Regions from separate parts of the Homo sapiens genome. Here region 2 is linked to region 1. Evidence: promoter capture Hi-C in 16 types of primary human blood cells and fetal thymus (Javierre and others, 2016). All regions are on one chromosome and are shown on one strand. The core of a region is centred on a gene start or on the middle of the fragment in contact, and the rest is flanking DNA. Distances in the headings are between cores, read along the strand shown. Region 1 holds the start of TUSC2 (tumor suppressor 2, mitochondrial calcium regulator). Region 2 holds the start of ALAS1 (5'-aminolevulinate synthase 1).

Evidence for each region. The method cuts DNA at HindIII sites, captures the fragments that hold promoters and counts their contacts. A CHiCAGO score of 5 or more calls a contact.
Region 2: the fragment with the promoter of ALAS1 here is called in contact with the fragment with the promoter of TUSC2 in region 1 in 2 of 17 cell types (non-activated CD4 T cells and neutrophils); the score reaches 6.2 in non-activated CD4 T cells.

Annotation. Positions count from the first base shown.
Region 1 is chr3:50,325,253-50,329,841 of GRCh38, forward strand. TUSC2 (tumor suppressor 2, mitochondrial calcium regulator) reads right to left here and starts at 2,971. Exons shown (of 3, transcript NM_007275.3): 1 at 2,702-2,971; 2 at 1,105-1,225; 3 at 1-934. The coding sequence starts at 2,847. The coding sequence ends at 869. RASSF1 (Ras association domain family member 1) reads right to left here. Exons shown (of 6, transcript NM_007182.5): 6 at 4,536-4,589. RefSeq lists an enhancer at 3,106-3,215. The HindIII fragment of the contact is 3,021 bases long and covers 2,755-4,589 here.
Region 2 is chr3:52,196,387-52,201,332 of GRCh38, forward strand. ALAS1 (5'-aminolevulinate synthase 1) reads left to right here and starts at 1,774. Exons shown (of 12, transcript NM_000688.6): 1 at 1,774-1,869; 2 at 2,286-2,462; 3 at 2,824-3,054. The coding sequence starts at 2,856. RefSeq lists enhancers at 1,316-1,385, 1,396-1,615 and silencers at 1,756-1,825, 1,936-2,015. The HindIII fragment of the contact is 12,746 bases long and covers 1-4,405 here.

The DNA of each region.
Region 1 (4,589 bases), core at 1,721-4,220:
TGTTGTCCCTTACCACAAGGTGGTGAACAGTCCCCTCCCAATTGGAGGGGTGGAGGATTTGGTGCAAAGCCATGGAGATTAGACAGAATAGGTGGGTTGGAGTAACTCCCCATAGGCACAAGCATCCGCAGCCTGTCCTGACCCCAGCCTGCACTCTCTCAACTCCTCAACTGGGGGTTCGGGGTTGGGGGGCAACAGTTAGTTGCAGTAGGGGGATCAGCCCAGCCCTGGGTAGAGGGAGAAGCCCCCACCCAGTCCCCACTCCTATCAATAGCCAGCAAACTGTCCATCCATCTGAAGGCGGGAACAAATGGCAGGTAGGTCGGAAGAATCAGGCTGGCACTGCCCCCAGCCTCTGTCCAACACAGGAGGAATCGAGGTAGCAAACGGCTGAAATGCTCTGACTAGGGGTTAAAAGGGAAGTGAAGGAAAGGAAGTTCCTACTTGTATACAGTGCCCACAGCCTAGGGGCTGGAAGAAAGCATACCTTGCTTGTAAAGTGCTGTAGCCTCTAGCAGGGCTAGGCCCCAGGCAAACTTGGAAGAAAGCAGACCAGGCAAGGAACCAGGTAACGGGCATTCCTGACTGGTATATGCCCTGCTGTGCTGCTTGCAGGGGTGGCTTGGGAGAGTGGGGTGCTAACTCTGCCATTAGCCTTCACCACCCACCAACCACCTCTTGTCCACACACAAACCAACACCCAACCAATACTGTGGGACCGACCCGCTCACAGCTGAAGGTTATGGGCCAACAGAGTTTATTCAGGGTTGTGGCCCCAGCCTGGGCTCCTCAATGGAAGCCACACCTTGATTGAGCCTGGGAGTTTCTTGCCGGGGCAGGGGGTGCTTCTGTCTGCCACCTCCCAGGGTCACACCTCATAGAGGATCACAGGGAAATCCACGTGGATGCGGGGGTGATCCAGCTTCACGATGCCCTGCCATGGAAACAGAGGCTAGTAAGGGTCAGCTCAGGGCCTCTACTTCAGGAAGCTTCCTTGTTCCTCCCAGATCCCCCCGCAAAAGCCCCCACCATGACAACAGATCCCATCTGGGTCCACCTCCACACGCTTAGTGTAGGCTCTGTGACCGCTGCCCAGCCCCTCACCTGAGGAATCAGATTCTTATGCACTCGCCTCAGCTTGGCCCGCTTCTGCCCGTTCTTGGTGACGATTGTCTCCTCATAGAACTCGTGAGCCAGATCCCCATCCTCATCATAGAACATAGAGCTGTGTAGAGGGAGAAGGAAACAGGCTGGGCTGGAGCCCCACACCTGGGCATGGCAAATGTCACAGGTCACGGGGAAGTCTGTGGTCTTCCCAACCCCAAGTGGGAAGAAAAGAGGATAATATGCCTGGAGAATCCTTTTTTTAAAAAAAATTTTTCGAGACAGAATCTCACTCTGTTGCCCAGGCTGGAGGTGCAGTGGCGCGATCTCAGCTTGCTGCAACCTCTGCCTCCTGGGTTCAAGCAATTCTCCTGCCTCAGCCTCCCAAGTAGCTGGGACTACAGACATGCACCACCACACCCTGCTAATTTTTTGTATTTTAGTAGAGACGGGGTTTTGCCATGTTGCTCTGGCTGGTCTCGAACTCCTGAACTCAGGCAATCCACTCGTCTTCATCTCCCAAAGTGTTAGGATTACAGGCGTGAGCCACGGTGCCTGGCCTGCCTGGAGAATCCTTTGCCTGGGGTTTGGGGTCTACTAGAAGAAAGTGGGAAGTGAGGTGATGGGTGGGCAGTGCTACTATGTCAGACCCCCAAGAAGAGAGCCCACACCAGAGCACACCATCCAGGCAGCCACCAAGGCCAGTTCTCATCCTTGATTTGTTCAGCAAGGGCAGCCATTCTAATATCAGGACTTTGCCTTCACCCAGGACTTCTAGAGTGGGCAGGGTGGTGGCCTGGGCATGTTGGTCTCACTCCAGAAGATGCTGCTGGCCCAGTGTCAAAGACTGAAATAGCAGAAGCCTAAGCTAGGAAGAAGCACAAAGGAATGAAGGCTGCGTCTCCCCTGACCCCACACCCCAGGTGGCTGGTGAATTGCCACTGTTGGGTCTTCCTGGTGTCTACAGCCAAATCTCTAGCACAGGGAGCGCCCATCTCCAGGAGCCCACTAGAGCCAAGCCAATCTGGTACTCTTGTGCGGGCCTCTGGGAGACTGGGCTGGGGGTTGGGTGGGTAGGTCAGCGCTCTGGATCTGGAGAACATAACTGGGTGAGGGTCTTTTTTCCTCAGCCTCACCCCCAATACTGAGGCCTATCCCTGCTTTCCCAGCCACTACGCTCAAAGGTTCAGCCCCACTACTGTCAGGAAAAGCAGCCTAAACAGAGGGTTATTATCCCCTTGGAATAACTGGGGGGGAAAGGGAGGCTAGGACCCTTCAGTATGCAGGCTGAGCCGGAAGGGATGAAAGGAAGAGATCTTATGGAGGTCTTATGGAGGCCCTAGCTTAGCTTTACCGTGCGGAAGGTCCGACCAGTGACAAGCCTCAGGCCCACTCTTCCCTAGGGAGACTTTCAGAGTGGCCAGGCCGCCAGGAGACCACTGCCCGGCTTTCTCCACCCCCAGCTCCAATGAGGCTCAAAATATGGGGGTCGTCCTGGCTTGGCTGTAGTGGGGTACAGCGGTGGAAGTTCCCCCGTGGCGCGGGACGCCTGGCCGCCCGCCTGTTCCCCCCGCCAGGGTGGAACCCATGCCCTTACCCGCGGCGCGTGAATACGAAGGGGGGCACAGCTCGGCCCCGAGGCCGCACCAAAGCTTGCTCAGCTCCTGCTGCCTCTGAGCCGCCGCCTCCGGCCGCCGAGGCGAAGGGCCACAGGCCCCGAGCTTTGGACCCGCTGGCGCCCATGTCAGGGCCGCCGGCGCATGGCGGGCCCCGTGGCCGCTCTGCTCACACCGCAGTCCGCACTACCATAACCTGCCCCAGCCGCTGATCGCAGGTGCCGCCGCCGCCGCCTTCCGCAGGCTCGGCTGTCTCCACGGAAACCTCACTTCCGCTTCCGCACGCTGCCACCTCTGATTGGCTGTTGCTCAAGTCGTGGGGGCGGGACCAATGGGCGCCCTTAGATGCTGGGCATCCCAGCATGCGTTGCGAGATCCCAGGTCCCAGCAAGCGCGATCTGACCAGCTGGGACAGCTCCCACCGAGGAAAGTGGTGGCCGTGAGTCCTCCCGGTCTTTTGGGTGTATTTGGCGGCTCTGACGTCCCCCAACACCTGAGTTCAGGCCTAGCAGGACTTCGCAAGCACCAATCCTCAAACCTGCACTTCAGGGCCTAAGGCCAGACCGCCGGGTGCCCATCTGGCTTCTATTTTCACAGCTGTATTTTTGCGATTGCCACGCTTATGTGAACTAACCAAGTTGAAAGAAAATTAAGGAACTGGCCAGATTCACATAGTTACATTCAGTTCTGAAGAACTTCGAATTCAGTGTTTTCAAACCCAGCAGAGTCCATGCTTAATGAAAGCAAGAATTGTTAACAGCTATACCCTCGGTATCACGAGCAGTGTCTGGTCCACGGTGGCAGCTCTGTATTTGGTGAAGGAGTTATGCCACACCTTCTCCCAGAGCGTGGTGTGTGTGTGTTGAAGGGATGGTTTTGTTTTTTTTTTTTTTTGAGATGGAGTTTCACTCTTGTCGCCCAGGATAATGTGCAGTGGCACGATCTCGGCTCACTGCAGCCTCTGCCTCCAGGGTTCAAGCGATTCTCCTGCCTCAGCCTCCCGAGTACTTGGGATTACAGGCATCTGCCACCATGCCGGCTAATTTTTTTGTATTTCTAGTAGAGACGGGGTTTCACCATGTTGGTCAGGCAGTCTTGAACTCCGGACCTCAGGTGATCCACCCGCCTTGGCCTCCCAAAGTGCTGGGATTACAGGCCTGAGCCACTGCGCCCGGCCGTTTTTTTTTTTTTTGAGTTGGAGTCTTGCTCTATCGGAGTGCAGTGGTGTGATCTCCACTCACTGCAACCTCTGCCTGCCGGGTTCAAGCGATTCTCCTGCCTCAGCCTTCTGAGTAGCTGGGACTACAAGCGCCCACCACCACGCCCAGCTAAATTTTTTTTGTATTTTTGGTAGAGATGGGGTTTCGCCATGCTGGCCAGGCTGGCCTCGAACTCCTGGCCTCAAGTGATCTGCCCACCTAGCCCAACCAAAGTGTTGGGATTACAGGTGTGAGCCACTATGCCCAGCCAGTTTCCCTAAGTTCTAACTGCAGTCCATTTTTGTCTCCACCACAACCTGAGCCCCAGGGAGCTGAGTGATGACCAAGTATGTATGCATACTACATCTTCACAAATTGGTCCATGGTGACTTTGCAAGACACCTGGGAGCCTGTCCATCACCCTTGGCAACTTCTGGCACCATGAGGGGCAACTGCAGCTCTGCGCCTATAATAATAAAGAGTCCAGGCTGGGCAGGGTGGCTCACACCTGTAATCCCAACACTTTGGGAGGCCAAGTTGGGAGGATCCTGGGCAACACAGAGAGACTCATGTCTCTACAAAAACTTTATATGTATAAAAGATTCCAACAGCAGGAGGATCTTGAAATCTTTATTGAGCCAATTCTCTCAGGCCCCAGGCCCTGATGATG
Region 2 (4,946 bases), core at 524-3,023, 1.9 Mb after region 1:
AGTTCTTTCTGCTTTGGCTTTGGCTCTGATCACCCCCAAAAAAACCCTATGAGGGCCAGGCGCAGTGGCTCAAGCCTATAATCCCAGAACTTTGGGAAGCTGAGGGTGATCACTTGAGGTCAGGAGTTCAAGACCAGCCTGGCCATCATGGTGAAACCCCATCTCTACTAAAAATACAAAAATTAGCTGGGCGTGGTGGTGTAATCCCAGCTGCTCAGGAGGCTGAGGCAGAAGAATCGCTTGAACCTGGGAGGCAGAGGTTGCAGTGAGCCGAGATTGTGCCACTGCACTCCGGCCTGGGCAACAGAGGGAGACTCTGTCTCAAACAAACAAACAAAATAACAACAACAACAAAAACAACCTGTGAGGCAGGCATTTCAGGGATTATGATCCTATTGCCCAGATAAGGAAAGCAAGGCCCAAAGATGAGCAAAGCACTCAATATCATCCTTATTCTGTTCCCACTTCCAGCTGCACTTGGGTCCAAGTCCAAGTGCTGACCTTTTCTCTCTCATCTTCTCTGGGTGATGGGCACTGCCCAGGATCTCTTGGCTGAATGGCACAGAACTGGGTCTCGAGCTCTCAGACCAAAGCCCTCATCCTGGACTGGTCCCACTGCCACTCTGAACCCAGGTGCCTCCTCTGAAGGTGGAGACTCACCTCACCTGCCTTGCAGCCAGCTGGGTGCTCAGAGACAGAAATGCAAAGTACCTGGACACACCCTGGTCACCATCATTCTGGACTTTGTCCCTCTTGTTAATGCTCAGCTGGGAAAGGAATACCCTCAAAGGCCCTTTCCTCAAGAATGGAGGAGAGTACCTCTGAGCCTGGCACAGGCCCAGCCCAACACAGCCCAAGCCAAGCTGGGAAGGGTGTGGGGCAAGGAAGCCAGACTGACATTCCTGAGACGGGTTTGCCAAGCCCTACACTTTATGTGTTGTACCCGGGAAACTCAATGGAGGTATGGCCCAACGCTGACCTTTGGCATGGAGGCCTAAGCCACCCTGCTGGTGCCCAGGGTGGCCAGCAAGGGGCTTCAGACAACCCTGGATGGAAAATAAAAATAGTGGCTAATATTTGTTACACGCTAACTATTGTCAGGCCCTGTGCCTTCCCCTCCTCCCCAAGTGCTCAGAGCTGTGGAGTGGATGGGTTCCACCCTAGCCCTGTTCCTCTGTCCCCTCTGGATCATCTTAGACCAGAAAGTGCCACAGCTGAGTGTCCCGCTTCTTCCGCATCCTGCCAGGACCACTCCATTTGTGGGCGATATAGCCAGCTCCACCTCCTCCGGGAAGCCCTTGTTCACAGTTTCCAAAGCAAGCCGCAGGCGGGATGGATCCTGCTTAACACCCCGGCCCAGAACCCCTTGGATCTCCTTCTTCCTCCATGTCCAAGACACCCAGCTTAACAACCCTGTAGCCCCCAACTTGGCCCTAGCGGCACCTCGCCTCGACCTTGCCATTTTATACTCAATTGGGGCGTAGGGTTCTGAAGCCCAGGGTAGTTGGTGGGGAGGCAGCACGAGGGTGCAGGATGAGGTCGGGAAAAGAGACCTCGTCCGCCCACCGCCTAGCGCTTCCTCCTCCCTGCAGGCGAGCCGGGGAATCCCCGGCAGCACCGATATCCGCAGAGCCCAAGAAGTGGGCCTCTCTGCCCCGCCCCCCCGGCTCGCCGAGGGCTACGCGGCGCGCCTGCGCAGAAGAAGGCAGCGCCCAAGGCGCATGCGCAGCGGTCACTCCCGCTGTATATTAAGGCGCCGGCGATCGCGGCCTGAGGCTGCTCCCGGACAAGGGCAACGAGCGTTTCGTTTGGACTTCTCGACTTGAGTGCCCGCCTCCTTCGCCGCCGCCTCTGCAGTCCTCAGCGCAGGTGAGGGCCCGCGCGGTAGGTGCGGCGCCGGCCGAGGAAGCCCCGGGGTGTCCTGCCAGCCGTGGCACCGCTGCCCCGGGTGCTGGGACCCCATCCCCCACTGTCCCAGTCACCCGCCGCCTTGAGGTCAGCGTTTATCCTCCAGATCTTTTGCCTAGACGGCCGCCTCAGTTTCCCCCTTTCGGCCCCTTCCGGCTATTCCCGGTTGAACCCGCCGCTTTAGAATTCCCTTCTCATACCCCTCCCGTCATTCTCGAGACCTCGACCGCGGGTCACCTCTGACCCCCACTGCCGGAGGACTGCCTTCTTTCTCCAGACTCAACTCCCTCGACTTTATAAGCCCCTGCGCGTCCCCAGTGAGGCCCAAGGCGCTGGCCCTCATACCCCTACCCTCATTTGTGCCCCTCCTTTCTCAGTTATGCCCAGTTCTTCCCGCTGTGGGGACACGACCACGGAGGAATCCTTGCTTCAGGGACTCGGGACCCTGCTGGACCCCTTCCTCGGGTTTAGGGGATGTGGGGACCAGGAGAAAGTCAGGATCCCTAAGAGTCTTCCCTGCCTGGATGGATGAGTGGCTTCTTCTCCACCTAGATGTAAGCCAAGATGTCTTATCTGCACTGTGCATCTCCCTAAGAAACCTCTGGCCTCCCAAACCTGTTCTTGACCTTTCCCTCATCCTTCCGCCCCCTTGATTATGTACTGTCAGTATTCATTTGGTGAAGTTGCTTTGCAGGTGCCTTTGTGTAGCGCTGGAGAATGAAGAAGTTGGTGACCCGGGTAAAGTGTGGTCACCATTCCTTAGCTCACATCAGTGCTGTCCTTAGGCATTTTTGAGGGAGAAGTGTTAGTATTCCAGGGTACCCTTTATATAAACTGCGGTTGACACCTGAATCCAGTGAGCTTGCAGTGATATTTGCCTGATTATTAACAACTGTTGATGTCACTCTTCATCAGTCTTTCCACAGGAGCCAGCATACTTCCTGAACATGGAGAGTGTTGTTCGCCGCTGCCCATTCTTATCCCGAGTCCCCCAGGCCTTTCTGCAGAAAGCAGGCAAATCTCTGTTGTTCTATGCCCAAAACTGCCCCAAGATGATGGAAGTTGGGGCCAAGCCAGCCCCTCGGGCATTGTCCACTGCAGCAGTACACTACCAACAGATCAAAGAAACCCCTCCGGCCAGTGAGAGTAAGTGTCATTGACAATGAAGGAGCAGGTATGGGTGTTTGTGCTCATTGGTAGACTAGAAGCAGTCCCCACAGTGGTGGTGAGGGTCACACTCACTCACAGAGGGCTGCTATGTGCAGGCTGGGCTCTGAGCACAGATTATCTCATATGATTGTCCCCCCAAGGGTAGGCACTTTTAGCTTTTCCATCTTTAAAGGTGAAACAGTGGCCAGTGTTGCACATTACAGGTTTTTGGATTGCACGTTAGTGTCTATAGGGGTTTTAGTGTTTCCTCAGTGCCTCGTTCACATAAATATTAAATTGGAATGTTCTAATTTCCCTCATTAAACATTTAGCCTTCTAATTTCCCTCATTAAACATTTGGCCTTCGGCTTTTTATTTATTTAATTTTTCTTTTTTGAGACTGAGTCTTGCTCTGTCGCCCAGGTTGGAGTGCAGTGATGCAGTCTCGGCTTACTGCAACCTCCACCTCCCAGGTTCAAGTGATTCTCCTGCCTCAGCCTTCCAAGTATCTGGAATTACAGGCATGCACCACCACGCCCAGATAATTTTTGTACTTTTAGTAGGGTTTCACCTTGTTGGTCCGGCTGGTCTCAAACTCCTGACCTCAAATGATCCACCTGCCTCAGCCTCCCAGAGTGCTGGGATTGCAGGCGTGAGCCACCGTGCCCGGCCCCTTTGGCTTTTTAAAGTAGTGATTTTTTTTTTCTTAAAAGTTTTTGTTCTGTTGTGGTAAAATGCCCAAGAAAAATTACCATTTTAAGCACTTAAAAATGTGCAGTTCAGTGGTACATTCATATTGTTGTGTCACCACCACCATCCATCTCCAGAACTTTTTTCATCTTCCCAAACTGAAATTCTATACCCATCAAACAGTAACTCTCCATTCCTCTCTCCCCAACCCCTGACAACCACCATTCTGCTTTCTGTCTCTATGAATTTGACTATTCTAGGTACCTCATATAAGTGAAATTGTACAGTATTTATTAGTGATTTTTAAAAACAAATTTATCTTGGCTGTGTGCAGTGGCTCACTCCTGTAATCCCAGCGCTTTGGGAGGCCGAGGTGGTTTGATCACCTGAGGCCAGGAGTTCGAGACCAGCCTGGCCACATGGTGAAACCCCACTGTTACAAAAAATACAAAATTAGCTGGATGTGGTGGTGTACGCCTGTAATCCCAGCTATTTGGGAGGCTGAGGCATGAGAATTGCTTGAACCCGGGAGGTAGAGGTTGCAGTGAGCTGAGATCATGCCATGTATCTTTATTTGTATATACATTTGTTGTTGTTGTTTTTAACAAAGAGACTAGAGTTGAATTTAGTTTGCTCTGCTTCTGATAGGAGAGAACAAAGCTTTTCAGGTTCCACTTAATCCCAGAGAATATTTTACAGGTTTTTCTTAGGCGTGTTCTCTGGGTGTGGGCTTGTAAGAAAATAAGTTTTTTTTTTCTTTAAGCAGAAAGGATTTAATCCTTTGTAGGGTTTATTTTCAAGAGTTAGTTACGTCTTTTTTACCAAAATGCTTGCAATGGCTATGTTTTAAATGATAGGATTTTTTTCTTTTTCTAGACTTTAATGAATATGTATTACTTTTATAATAAATGAAATTAACTTCAAAATAATTTTTTTGGCCTTCCGTTATAGAAGATTTTAATGAAAACTGTATTGAGACACTTTACCCAAGTTATAGGAAAGGCTAGCCAGTGACTCACAGGAGTGTTCCAGAATGATGAAGAAAGACTTTTCTAGAAAGAAGGTGAATGAATTTGCTCAAGGGGAGAGGGAAGTCACTGTAGCTAGAAGGATAATTACCAGCCAACGGTGTTTAGTCAGCAGACTTTGATGAATTTAGATGAGAAAGTAGATGAGGTATGTGAATGTGATATACCCCT